Linked DNA regions of Homo sapiens: region 1 is linked to region 2. Evidence: promoter capture Hi-C in human tissues and cell types (Jung and others, 2019). All regions are on one chromosome and are shown on one strand. The core of a region is centred on a gene start or on the middle of the fragment in contact, and the rest is flanking DNA. Distances in the headings are between cores, read along the strand shown.

Region 1 (4,370 bases), core at 1,081-3,580, 59 kb before region 2:
CCAGGAAAAGAATACTAATTATACAATAAGCAGTAAAGTGTACTTTAGACAACATCCACTGTTGAAACAAATAATAACTTTCCAAGCCGTGAGCTACTCAGAGAATACACGTCTATACTTATAAAGTTCTAGGGGAAAACACCAAGTGACTGGGTATCTGTGTGTGTGTGTGTGTGTGTGTGTGTGTGTGTGTTTGTAGATGCATTTGTGTGTGTGTGTGTCTGTCTTTTATGATTTATACTAAATTATGAAGTCAGATAAAGACTTGACGCATTCACATATAAACAGATATTGACGATGACAGTTCACCTGTGTGAGCATGCAATGCTCATTTGGTGTTCATCCTATTTCCCTTAACACGTCCTGAGTAACAAAGCCAAGGTCACTTTTTTTGTGACTAAACTGAGATTAGAACCTCGTCCCACTGATATTTAGTCAATGGGATACTGCACAGCCTCTCCCATTCAATCCAGTCCCTAGTGCCAGAACAAGAAGCACTAAGCACTTAATATTCATCATTTCTTTAGTTTTACTCTGAGTTTACCACTATTTCAGAGTCATAGCAGAAACACAGAGGGTAAAGTAACTTGCCCGAGGTTTCACAATAAGCAGTCACACAGCAGAGCCAGGCCTTGAACTCGACTAAACTGACACCCCAATATTTTAAAAACCTGTGGGCAGTTTTACTTCCTGACCAGAGCTGAGGGAGACATATCTTTCCCCTTACGCAGAAAAGTTATATTAGGTGACAGCACCTTTATTTAGGGATTGTGGAACACTTTAGGTAAGGTGGCTGTTTTTTACAGAAGAGAAGGACAAAAATGCAGTTTCCAGTTAGTAATAAACTTATTAGATTGCTCCAGCACTCACTGATGTAAGTTTTCAGGCTATGCAAAAAAAAAAAAAAAAAAAAAAAAAAAAAAAGAGACTTGCAAATGGCTTACTGTCCAAAAGAATATGAAGCCCAGAAAATGTAGTGTTTTTTAAAATCCAGGAAGGCACACAGAACTTTGAATATTAAATGTTAGACAATGTGGGACAAAAGCAAGAACAATCTTTTCTATTTTTTTTAACAAGGGTGAATACATAAAATATCAGATAAAGGTTAGCAAATAAATAATATTTAAGCAAAAGAGACAACAAAAAGAGCAGACGTAAGGAACTCACAAGCTTACCTCCAGCAATGGGTGCCAGTGCGTTATTGGTTTTCGATGATAGGCCAGCATTTCATTCCAGTGGTCTCGCCCAAGACCCTCAGCATCCAGTCCTGTTCTGCACACTCCTATGACCTCATTGTGTCCTACCCTATGATTTGTGGGATATTATATTTTCATTTCCAACATTCAAAGATAAAGGGGGTTTCACAAATCGTAGTAGAATTTTAAAAATATGATTAAAACATTAGATTCTGTAATTTTGCAGATTATGCTACTTCAGACCGAATGAAATCTCTTAAGTAAATCAACATTTACTAAACAGTATCAACATTCAAAAAATGAATGTGTATAAGAGGCACACACAAACCATTTCAGTGCTTTGTAGTTTAAGCACATTTCATCATAATAAAAATGGCATGAATGAGAAATACCAGTAGGTCTTTACCTATATGATGAGTGTCTTTCTTGGAAGCAGTCTTATTTAATACAAGTGATGTAAAACAAATCTTGTTCTTTCCACAAAGCTTAATGTTTTATAACGATGTTTAGATTTCTCACCAAGAAATACAGCAGTACCAATTTTCTTTAATTGACTCTAAATGATACCTCAGTGTGTTACCACTTGCATTACAATTAAATAGGGCAGGATTATGTTCAGTTGCATGGCATGTGATTTATTTTTGCATAACAGAAAACATACTGGACAACATTTGTATATTCTATTCAGGTCCTGCTTTCATAGCAATGAATCAAGATGATAATAATAACAGTTAATATTTTTGAGAGCTTATTATGTGCCAGTGTTCTAGGTAGTTTAAATGTACTGACCCAATTAATTCCCCCACCATGACCATGAATATCATTATTATCATTCTCTCATTTTATGAATAAACTAAATGCCCAGAAGATTAGGAGCTGGCCAGACTTTACACACTTAGTAAGAGGCAGAGACAGGAGCTGAATCAAAGGAGTTGTTGGCTCAAGAGCACTTGTGGTTAAGTTGCTTCTCAAGAATGGAATGTCATTGAAAGGAGTTTCAATTTTGACAGACATCTCCAAAGATACTTTTGAGATGATTTTAGAACAATTTCATTACTTTTTTTTCCATCATTGATGTAGATATGTATATGTAGTATTATTTTCTTTAATATGAAATTTCCCAAACAAGCATGTTTTTAGGTACAAAAATTTTGTCTTCCTGTGTATATCTTGTTAGCATCCATTTCCCTAAAATTGCCCCAGTGACAAATGCTCAGTTGTATCTACCTACACTTATTGCTGTGAGAAATCAATAGGGGTAATTGGCAAAGCAGAATAGGGCCCCTGATGAAAACATCTGCAACTTTTTTAGTTTGAAATTTCAATGGATTCAAGAGTTCGCTCTCTCTTTCTAAATAGTAGTCACAAGTTAAAATTTTTTAAAAATTATAAATTCATTTCTAGTAGACAGTGCTTGCAAATGTTATTTTTCAGTGTTTCCCCCCCTAGCTCTAAGCCAGAGGAGAGCACATTAATATCTCTCAGTTACAGGGTCCTGGTGATGATACTATAAAATGGACACTTAGCGTGTGTTTGTGCGTTTTAGAACAAAATAAATATACTAAGGTACTGTTTATGTGTTGATAATTTTGTAGGTTAAAAACACAAGTATTCATTTCCAAAGATTTTATAAATATAAAGGGCAAAATAATAAGAGGAAGTATATAGTAAGGCCCAAATAAGAGACATAAACCATTGATGGGACAAGAGTTCAGAGGAAGAAGAGGATTGGTCAGCAAAGCAAGACTTACAGAGGTGCTGACATAAGCCAGGCTGTGGGGTGTTGGTGGGACATGATACACAAAGCTGGAGGACAGTCCAGGCAACGGGGAGAGTGGGAGGGCAAAGGTAAGAGCTGCAGTGGGAAGGATCTTCAGAGCTGCATAGGGGAGGTTGCAATGTTTTCATGAAAGCAGGAGTGACTCAAAGAGTGTGATCTGGAAGAACTATCCATAAAGCAATGCTTTAAGATTGATGTGAAGGCATCAAAGCTGTATCCTTATGACTACTTATTCACTTTCCACTCTTACTCCTCGTTGTTCACAGTTCTGTATGATGCTTAAGTTTTACAAATGGGAAAAGTGATTCTCAAAGTGATTATGTAACATGTCCTCTCATGCAGCTAGTTAATGATAGAACTCGGGTAAGCATCATGATATTCATATTCCAGCCTAGTTGGTAAAACAAATTCTGTTGATTGTAATCTCTGTTGTTACTATAAAAAGACTCCACAATAGTGCTTTCTTGAATATGTTCTATACTACTTCTGGACCCATTCTTTCACCAGTCCCCGGTGAATTTTAATTTAAAGATGACTTCTTTTGGAAATGAAAATCCAGAACTATAACACAGAAAACAATGAATTTTCAAGGAATCATTATTCCCTCCTCCAATTTAAATTAAAACTGTTGTGGCAGTAAATGACCTGAAAAGCTGAGTTTGGCCTGCGCATGACTAGACATGGCTGCTCTTCAGTGAGAAGAGAGATACACATACCTATCGTAATCCATGACCGCAATGGAGAGGCTGACCTGGTCCACGTTCTCTGGAGGGATGTCAAAAATAATGGCCTCATTGTACACAGGGTTTAGAGTGTTTTTCTTTGTAGTTGTTTTCCTCTTTTTTAATCTTCGACCTTCACACATCAGGGACACTTTGACATAAGGATCTAGGAATAAGAAGATAACTTTATTAAAATAAAAGTAATAGTACAAAGCATAAATAAAACTGCAGTTTATTTTTACTAAATAAGACCTATAGTACTAAGGCCTATATTAAGACCTTTAGTATTACCAATTTTAAATTTGTCTCCAAAAAAAAGAGTAATTGTAGTAAGGTTAGTTTCTTTCAAAATGGTCTAGAGTAAGAAGATCAAAACTTGTGAAAGACTTAGCAACTCTGTACCTAGACAGATAGAGATGATCACAATAAGCAGAAATTAGAAAGCGAAAGCTATACTTGGAATTTTCTTCAATTACTGGAAAAGGACCTAAAATTAAAAATATCATTTGCTTGATAAGGAACTTGGATGGAAAAAAATGATACTTACAAGTGATTTATTGCATGCACAACAGTAAATGATAAAAGGGGGGATATTTGGTTTAAAGATGGCCACACAAAAAGAAGCCTCCTGATATGACATTGTCTACATCATGCCAATTACGGGGGAAAAAT
Region 2 (4,296 bases), core at 438-2,937:
GGGTGGTGGTGGAGAGGATTCACTAAGTGTGCCCCGCTTTGCTCCCTCCCAGCACGCAGGGCTCCATGTTGTCCTGAGCTTGGCTGTCCAGCTCTTGTTGCCCTGACTACCTTCAACTCTTAAAATCCCGCCAGGAGATCAAAATGACAGGAAAAGCAAAGGGAAAGAACCTAGAGAAGGAATGGCAACCTTCCAGTCGAAAATCCCCAAAGCAGTGTTTTTTGACTCCTAGTGCAACAAGTGACCCTCTCAAGCGGCTCTTGAAACCACGCAGCCCGCAACTCGGGGATCCACCTCGCGTGCGCCCGAGGAGCACAGCAGGCTGGACACACCAACCTTTTCCCCAACCGTGACCCAAACAGTGGCTTGGATTCGATCCTTTCCACCCCCAAGCCTTGAGGAAAATCCACTTGAGACTTTTTTCCATCTCCAGATTTCCGACGGTCGATATCCTCCTGCATCCAGCCCATTTCCTAGTTTCCTGAAGGGTAGGGAGGACGTCTGTGAGTTGGATGTCTGAGAGCGTGCGTGTGCTAGGGATTTTAAACGTCTCCCCTCTCTTCCACTTCTTCGATATGTGCTCTGAGCTTTAGGTGTCGCCTCACAAATGGGATCAATAATCCTTGTTTTACCAACTTTGTCATGAAACCCTAGAAAATCATATATATTAAAAGGGCTTTAGAAATTGTCAGGTGCCCGACAGGTTGCAGCCGCGGGTTACCTCGGAGGCCAAGGCAGCCACCTCTGCAAGGGAGTTCTGCGTCCAAGCATGGCTTGTCCGTCCCGCCTGGCCCCCATCAACAAGGCCGGGACCAGCGGCCGGTGGAACGAGCGAGAGCAGCCCTAGTCCCACAGGTGAGCCGCCCCCACAAGCAGCCAAGCCGCGAGCCGTCCCGGCGCCGTCACCGCCCGCACTCACTTCTCCACTCCGGGAGGGAGATGGGAGGCGTGGGAGAACGCGGAGAGGCGCGGCGAGGCTGGGAGCGGGAGACGGCGCCGGGAGGCGGGAAGCGGACCAGAGAATGGGAGAAGCCCGGCAGGTGGACAGGAGGAAACAAAACCCAAACGCCCCACCCTCGAAGTCGTCAGGAGCTGAGCGAAGGAAGGAGCGAGGTAGGAAAGCGTGGCGCCCCAAATATGCCGCGGGAGCGGCGCGGGAGGCGCAGAACCCCGGAGCTTGCAGCCTAGCGCGCGGGGTCCCAGCGGAGCGCGAGGACGCGAGCGGAGCCCTCCCGGTTACCTGTGCTGCTTCCGCCCTGGCTGCCCCTGTCCCGAGGGAAGATGCCCGAGCACTTCTCCCACTCCACCTGGCCGGCGAAGCACAGCTCGGTGACGATGTGCAGAGCCTTCTGGCACAGACTGTTCACTCCGTCCTCCTTGTGGAAACTCATCGTTTGGCTTTTCTTTCGTTTTCTCTTTTTTTCCCAGTTAGCCGTCTTTTCCTCTTCCCGTACCTCTAACCCCTCTGGCGCCCTAAGCCATAGTCCGCCCGCGGTGACTTTGGCTGGAGATTGCGCCGCTGAGAGCCGGCAACTCTTAGGAGCCCCACGTTGGCCCCATGGCGGGAGCGGAGGGCGTAGGGGAAGGAGAGGCGCGCGAGGAGGCTGCGGCTGCCGCGAGGTTTGCGCCAACTCTCCCGCCGCGCGAGCGAGCCGAGGCGCGCTGGAACTAGAGACCCGGCATGGAGTGCTGAGGGGAGGGGGGAGCCGTAAAAAAGCCAAAGCAAGCCCTCGACTCGCAAGCACGCCCCCCTCCTCTCCCCAGCGCACTGGTGTTTCTGGCGGGTGCCTGGCGGCGACGCGTCCAATCGCAGCCCGGCGCGGGCGCTAGGTGACAGGCGGCGGAGCGCGCAGACCCGGCTCCCCGCGTCCTCTGAAGAAGGGACTCGCGAGGGAGGGAGGGAGGGAGGGCGGGCGGCCCGGCGCCCCTGCCGAGGCCGGGGATGCTCATCGTTGCCCAGAGTTGGCCCGAGGAGCCCTCTCCGTTTTCCCAATACTTTTCCCTGCATCAGTGCAGCCATCCCCGCCGCCTTTGTCTCTCCAACTTTTCCACGGATGTATTCTACTTTCTGTGCTATCTGCTTCTGCCCTTCTGGAAAAGTCATCCCAATCGAAGAAAAACTGAAAAAGTTAATTAGAAAAAAGAATGCGTGAATAAGCAAACCCTCTTAGGTAGATCACAAAATAAAATGTTATTTGTACTAATAATCAGATAAGATTCTGTCGATTAATCCGTAATTGGCGATTGAGAATGCACAACTTGACTCCCTCCATCTCCTTTCTTAGCGACTTAAAACAAGACATGGGTGTTAAAGGGAACAGGATTAAGTTCAAATCTGTCACACATCTCAGCCTAACCTTGAAGTTGTTTTCAGGTCTTGGCGATCCTCCTACTTCAGCCTCCCTAGTAGCTAGGACTCCAGGGACTCCAGGCGCTATTTTTTTTTTTTAAACTTATTGTAAAGACAAGGATCTCACTATGGTGCCCTGGCTGGTCTCGAACTCCTGGGCTCAATCAATCCTACCGCCTTAGCTTCCCAAAATGCTGGCACTAGCCACCACGGCCGGCCTGCTTTCGGGTCTTTGCCTGAGTCTGTAAAATGGGAGATTTGGACTCGGATGTCTTAAGCTCACCTGTTTTTATAATTCTTTAATGCAAATGGGTGCAAATCAGTAGAACTAAAGCGACAAAATAATAAACATGGGCTTCAGGATATAATATGTTTATATGGTTTTTAAACTGTTTTCGGGCAGAGTTTGATCCCATATCATAACCTGAGGATTGATTTAACCCTCTTGTGATGAGGGATTCTTTATTTTTGAAGTGGGATACATTGAACTTGTTAGCGTGTCTATGCTAGTAGAATAAGTAGTCTTTTTTAAAAACAGCTAATCAGTTCATGGTAAATTATTTGCTTTGCACAGGACTATGGTAAACCTAGTATAAATATTAGGCATAGCACTCCAGTAGGGAAGCATTCATTAGTTGAATCATTTTGACCTGATCCATAGGACGATTGGTTTAACTAGGACTATTTTTACCACGAATTAAGACAAACTAAAATCTGCAGGCTTCATTTGGTTTTTGTCTTTATGCACACTGACTTGGGTGGTTTTTAAGTCAAATTGTCTAAAGAAATAATTTCACTGTCAATCAAAAAATATTAAACATCTACTGTATGCACAAAACTAAATAACACACTTTAATAAGGCCCTTTCCAATTGCCTTTTGCCCCCCATTCTGCTACAGTCTACACAGACAGACCGGTAGAAAACAGCCTGCAATGCAATGCTGTACTTTCATATTTACCATATGAACTAATTGCTGTGTAGGAGGACCAAATGAGTAATTATCTTTATACTACTTACAGATTCTAATTGCTTAAGTGGAGTAATGCAGAAGGTCTCCCTAATGACCCTCTTGTGTTTGATTTCAGTGTTAAACATTAGGTAAACAAATTCTGAAAATAACTTTCCTGGTATTTGTTTATGCTGTTCCTGGCCTGTTGCTACTCTTACTGCTGTGTTTTCACAACAAGCAGAGTTAATTTCACTTGGATATTCGTTTTTCTGAATTCATTTCTCTGAAAAAAATTTTCTTTCATCTAAAATGAATATCACAGGTTTTGATTTTTTTCTTTGTTCTTTGGACCATCTCGCAGCTCATTAGCAGGTGAATCAAAACAGTTTTGTTTGTCACTAACTAAAAGCTCAGGTAAGAATTTTGGGCAAAGTAAAAACTGCATTGAAGGTCATCTTTTTCAATGCTGAAGGATAAGATGACAAGAATTTCAATTTTCAGTCTTTAAATTTTTTTTCCAACTATTTCAGCTACCAAGAACCTAAAAAGTAAATCAAGCAATACAGATTTGCATTTACTTCCCCACTCACACTCTGAAGGAATTGGTGAAATAGTAAAAGGAGAGGAGTGCAGGTTAGACTGATATTTACTGAGCATTGTTGGCTGTGCTGAGTACTATAGTAGCCATTGTTAGTCAAAAAAATACTAGCTGTAATGATCTCTGTCACAGCTTCCTTCTGGATGACCTCTACGTTATGTAGAGGAGGGATTGGTTTGGAAATAAGGAGCCCAGGAAAAACCCGTGTGAACTAAGCATACCTGTTAAGTGACAATTTTAAACATTCAAAACTCTGATTTCCCTACTTGCTCAATCCTCTTTCAATTCCTTCTTGCCCTTTCTCGTTCATATCGTGGGGGAGGGAGAGTTAGCTTGTTAGGCAGAGATCTCTCTACGGTAAGGGGAACTTGGGAATCACTCTAACACTATAATTTTAA

What was found. Contacts are between HindIII fragments. The study calls those that stand out against the background at their distance.
Region 1: a fragment that was not itself captured here is called in contact with the fragment with the promoter of SYT10 in region 2 in 1 of the 25 tissues and cell types used here (dorsolateral prefrontal cortex).

The regions. Positions count from the first base shown.
Region 1 is chr12:33,378,657-33,383,026 of GRCh38, forward strand. SYT10 (synaptotagmin 10) reads right to left here. Exons shown (of 7, transcript NM_198992.4): 5 at 3,693-3,864; 6 at 1,176-1,305. Among named protein-coding and RNA genes, the nearest start is that of SYT10, 59 kb to the right of the region's middle. The HindIII fragment of the contact is 5,901 bases long and covers 1-4,370 here.
Region 2 is chr12:33,438,132-33,442,427 of GRCh38, forward strand. It overlaps SYT10 (synaptotagmin 10), which reads right to left and starts at 1,688. Exons shown (of 7, transcript NM_198992.4): 1 at 1,241-1,688. The coding sequence starts at 1,391. RefSeq lists an enhancer at 599-1,415. The HindIII fragment of the contact is 9,708 bases long and covers 1-4,296 here.